Regions from separate parts of the Homo sapiens genome. Here region 2 is linked to region 1. Evidence: promoter capture Hi-C in human tissues and cell types (Jung and others, 2019). All regions are on one chromosome and are shown on one strand. Each heading gives the region's core, a stretch centred on a gene start or on the middle of the fragment in contact. The rest is flanking DNA. Distances are from core to core; before and after follow the strand shown.

Region 1 (2,700 bases), core at 162-2,661:
GCTCAGAATGGTTTATAATGTGGCCTGTAACACATTTAATTAGCATCCTGCCCTGCTCCCTTGCAAAGGCTTCTGGGAGCACCAACAATGAGGCACTCATTGGGATTGATCTGCCCATCTAGTTGGTCCACAGTAGTTACACAGAAAGGACAGACCCTTGGGAGAAACAAGCCCACGAAGGCCCAGTAAGGGCTTTTCTGATTTTTCTGATTTTCTAGCCAGACTCCATGGGAAACAGAAACCAAAATTTAAACCAAAGTTAGGAACACTGGCCTCTAAACAACAATCCAGGCTCCTGATACTCACCTCATTCCACTAACAAAGGAGAAATACCAAAGGTAATTACCCGTCCTAAGTGCTAGGGACCTGATTCCTCTCTTGGGCAGCCTTCCCTGAGTCTACCCTTTCCAGCTCCCACAACCCTACACCAGGTTTCTTGGTGGGAGCAATCCTGCTGCTCCTATTACTGATACAGCATTCGGTGAAAATTCCCCTTTTAGGCCGGGCGTGGTGGCTCACGCCTGTAATCCCAGCACTCTGGGAGGCCAAGGCGGGCGGATCACCTGAGGACACGAGCTGGAGACCAGCCTGGCCAACGTGGTGAAACCCCGTCTCTACTAAAAATACAAAAAATGAGCCGGGCGTGGTGGCGGATGTCTGTAAGCTCAGCTACTCGGGAGGCTGAGGCAGAAGAATCGCTTGAACTTGGGAGGCGGAGGTTGCGGTGAGCCGAGATCGCGCCATTGCACTCCAGCCTGGGCAACAAGAGCGAAACTCCGTCTTGAAGAAAAAGAAAAAAAATTCCCCTTTTAGTGTGAGCCTCTGAAGCCACTACTCTGGGGAGATGATAGGAGAGGATGGATTTGGACTCTGAAAAGGTAGTGATAACACATCTCCTTTTTTATTGCACTGCCCCAGTAAACTGAGTTGTACAAACAGAAAAAACTCGAAACCCTTCTGTCAACTTTTTTCGCGGGGAAGAGTCACGGAAACTGGAAACGGGAAATGGGAATTCACGTCTATCGCAGCCTCCTAGGTGGCAAACGCTTAGCCTGAACACCTCTTCAATAACCCTGTTAAGTAGACACGGTCATTATCCCCACTTACGGAGAAGAAAACCGCGGGTCGGAAAGGTCAAATATCTTATCCAGGGAACAGGGCTGGTAAAGCGCGGGGCTCCGATGAAATCCTCCAGTCTCCCGAGAGCCAGGAGCAAACTGGGTTTGGGCCGCTGCGCCCCGCACAGCCCAGACCCCAGCCATCAACTGCGACTGCGGCGGGCAGGCGGGAGAACTGACCTGAGGGGCGGAGGGCACGGCTGAGCGGCGCCCGACAGAAGGACAGGGGCCTGCTGTCCTGAGAGACGCGGCTGGTACGGCGTTCCTAAGAATCTTTTCGATCGCCGGGTTGTGGCCGCTTCCGCCCGCCAAGGGAATCAAATCTCCCGGGCCGGAAGGGGCGGGGACGCGGCGGGGGCGCGCGCGGCGCCGGATCCCAGGGAAGCGGACGCGCACGGCAGGCGGGGGCGCGCACAGTGCCGGGGGGTTCTCACCGGGGCAACGGCTCGCGGTCGCTGTGGAGCCGTGAAAGGGATGGCCGGGAGGTCCACTGGGCTGCGAGGGGTGACTTGAGGCCTTGGTCTTGCCCCGGAGGGCACGTGATGATTTTCCAGGTGGCGTGGATATGCCAAGTCTCCACAGAACCCAACTTTCTTACGTTCTCTTCCTAAAATTGACGTGCCCTCTGGCAGTCACAGTTCTCATTTTCGTCCTCCCTTGCCCACTGGCCGTTCTCCCACCCAGCAAAGACAGGAATACCTCCCCCTCTCCAAAATGTGTTGCCACGAGGAATAAGAACCCCAGTAGCTGAGACTACAGGCACGCGCCACCACGCCTGGCTAAATTATTTGTGGGTAGAGACGGGATCTCGCTATGTTGGCCAGGCTGGTCTCGAACTCCTGGGCTCAAGCGATCCTCCCGCCTCAGCCTCCCAAAGTGCTGGGATTACAGGCGTGAGCCACTGTATCCGGCCCAGAAAATCTTTAGACAAATTAAACTTTACAGAGTTGAATTGACCAAAGAATGAGTCCAAAATCCAGTAATCCCTGGAACCAAAATAGGTTCAGAGTGATTCGGGCTGCCATATGTTCAAATAACATTTATGGACAGAAAAAGGAAAATGACTTACAGAAATTGCAGTCAAGTATGGAAACAGCTGGATTGGTTGCAACTCAACCTCTGACTATTTTGAGCACTGTTTAAACAGTTGGCCACCTGTGATTGGCCAAAACTCCGCTGCTGTGATTGACTGAGACTCGCTACTTGTTACAAGGTTACAGTCTCTTTACACATTTACAATTGTAGTTGTCTACAATTCACTATGTATGGAGAAACTGTTAGGCCAGGTGCAAAGGCTCACATCTATAATCCCAGCACTTTGGTGGGGGGGCGGGGGCAGATCATTTGGGGTCAGGAGTTCGAGACCAGCCTGACCAACATGATGAAACCCTGTCTCTACTAAAAATACAAAAAATTAGCCGGGCTTGGTGGCGCGAGCCTATAATCCCAGCTACTCAGGAGGTAGAGGCAGGAGAATCTCTTGATTCTCTCTGCTGGGAGGCAGAGGTTGCAGTGAGTAGAGATCGTGCCACTGCACTCCAGGCTGGGCAACAGAGCAAGACTCCGTCTCAAAAAAAGAGAA
Region 2 (2,700 bases), core at 163-2,662, 1.0 Mb before region 1:
TACAAAATACATATTAATCTATTTTTTATGTTATCGGTAAGGTTTCTGTGCAACAGTAGGCTATTAGTAGTTAAGTTTTTGGGGAGTCAAAGTTACATGCAGATTTGTGACTGTGCAGGTGTCGGGGCCCCTAACTCCCACGTTTGTTCAAGTGCGGGGTATTTTCATTTCCACTTAAGTATATAGAGGCCAAAAATGCAAAAAAGAAAGAAACTATTACATAAACAGATGTACAAAGATAATACTGCATTTGAAATACAGTCACTTGAAATGTTCACTAATCAGCTTACATATTCAAGTATAAATTCGGTGAACAAAATGATTTAGGGACAGCGATATGTAATGTAAAAATTGTGGGTTGTTGGAAAGTAGAGATCTGTCTACATGGAAAGAATACTAGAATTAGGATTTCAATGTCCTAGATTATAGTTTCAGCTCTGCTATTTATCATGTGACTATGTGAGTCAGATTTTTTAGTTGCAAACACCAAAATCCAATTTTGACAGAAAAAGAAAAGTATTTTATTAAAAGGATAACAGGGAGTTCAGTATCACCAGGAGGCCTAGAGAATTAGGCTTGGAGAGTAGGCAACTGGAACATCACCCTTTGTTCCTTGGTCATACTCCACAGAGCTGGGGCAGTGAGGACGCCATTTCTGCTGAACATTAGGTGCCACCACTTACTTTGCCAAAGCCACATGCACAGAACCCTGGATCATGGCAGCCAGTGTTGCTCTAAGAACTTGCCGCACTTGCCATGGTCCCAGAGAAAATTATTCCAGAGACTTTATTGTGTCTCTGGTACTTAATTCAAAATCAAGAGTAATTTGTAGCATGATAGAATCACAAGGAGAAGCAGAGAAAATACCTGGAATTTCCACTTCTATAGTGAAAGGCATGTTCTGCTTCCCAGCAAACTCATAAACAAGGAATTCCCAAATGTAGGAAGGGACCTCAGATGCTGGGCAGCCAAAAAGCATGGCATGTCCACTATGTTGACCTGGGACACCACTCTGTGTGAGCCTACTTTTTCTGGAAAGCAAAGTAAATAAAGCTCCCATGGCTGAGGAGATTTTGTGTGTTCACTTATACATTTGCCAGTAAACACCAGCCAGGTGCCAGTGTATAAAGATGAGTAAGTTTCCTCTCGAGTCTAATGGTAGGATAGAGGCATGCAGAGGTGAGATGAGGGCAGAAAGAAGAGAGGGCTCAACTGTAGTTTGTGAATGATGTTCTTATATTTAAGTAGTTATATTTTTGGCTGGGCGCATTGGCTTACACCTGTAATCCCACCACTTTGGGAGGCCGAGGCAGGTGGATTACCTGAGGTCAGGAGTTTGAGACCAGACTAATCAATATGGTGAAACCCTGTCTCTACTGAAAATGCGAAAGCCTGTAGTCCCAGCTACTTGGGAGGCTGAGACAGAAGAATCGCTTGAACCCAGGAGGTGGAGGTTGCAGTGAGCTGAGACTGAGCCACTGCACTCCAGCCTGGGCAACAGAGCGAGACTCTGTTTCAAAAAAAAAAAAAAAAAAAAAAAACCCCTGGCCAGGTGTGGTGGCTCATGCCTGTAATCCCAGAGCTTTGGGAGGCTGAGGCGGGCGAATCACCTGAGGTCGGGAGTTTGAGACCAGCCTGGCCAACATGGTGAAACCCCGTCTCTACTAAAATACAAAAATTAGCTGGGCCTAGTGGCTGGTACCTGTTAATACCAGCTACGGGGGAGGCTGAAGCAGGACAATCGCTTGAACCTGGGAGGTGGGGGTTGCGGTGAGCCAAGATCATGCCATTGCACTCCAGTCTGGGCGACAAGAGCAAAACCCCATCTCAAAACAAACAAAAATTCCCATGTGGCACGTGATGCTTGCCCCACTAATAGGGAAGACAGCTTGCTCTTGTAGGACACTGCTGTAGCACTTTGAAAGTCAGCTGTTTTATACAAATACCAAAATGATAATGTTAGCTGGCACAAATCCAGAAACTCAAGCTTTTGATTGTTTATTGACAGTCATATCTGGACTGCCAGTTTCATGGAGTAAGATACTTTTCAAAGGATTAAATATGGCATAGCTTTGTCAGTCAGCAAGGTAAATCATCAGGCTCATTGCAGTGTGAGACTACCCCTGTGGTCTTTCTACTATACCTAGCTACTGTACAACTTTGTGTCTTAAAATAAATTGTTGGCTTTAGGTTTTAGTGTTTGGTTTTCTTATTTATAAAAGAGACCAGCTACATGGTAACTTAGACCTCACCCAGAATCATACCACATTCACCATATGGTAATAATAGATGGAATACATTTTTATGGAATATATTCTATAGAACCAGGGACTGAAAAAGGTCAGTAGGACCACGGGGTCAATTATTTCAGGCCACAATTTCGTGTAATAATTTCTTTTTCATAGTATTCTTGGTAAATTATGTTTCTATAGCTGATATTCTCTCGTAAATTCCGGAGGTCTGTATCCAACTCCTTTTCTTTTTTAGAGACAGGGTCTTGCTTCGTTGCCCAGGTTGGTCTCAAACTCCTGGGTTCAAGCGATCCTCCTGCCTCAGCCTCCTGAGTAGCTGGGATTACAAGTGAACTGCTTTTTTTTTTTTTTTTTTGAGACACAGTCTCACTCTGCCACTCAGGCTGGAGTGCAGTGGCGCACGATCTCTGCTCACTGCAACCACCACCTCCCAGGTTCAAGCGATTCT

Evidence for each region. Contacts are between HindIII fragments. The study calls those that stand out against the background at their distance.
Region 2: a contact is called between a fragment that was not itself captured here and the fragment with the promoter of MELK in region 1, in 1 of the 25 tissues and cell types used here (lymphoblastoid cells).

Annotation. Positions count from the first base shown.
Region 1 is chr9:36,571,606-36,574,305 of GRCh38, reverse strand. It overlaps MELK (maternal embryonic leucine zipper kinase), which reads right to left and starts at 1,411. Exons shown (of 18, transcript NM_014791.4): 1 at 1,299-1,411. RefSeq lists a silencer at 1,330-1,609 and an enhancer at 2,193-2,692. The HindIII fragment of the contact is 26,418 bases long and covers 1-2,700 here.
Region 2 is chr9:37,578,725-37,581,424 of GRCh38, reverse strand. No RefSeq gene overlaps it. Among named protein-coding and RNA genes, the nearest start is that of FBXO10, 3.7 kb to the right of the region's middle. The HindIII fragment of the contact is 3,211 bases long and covers 1-2,700 here.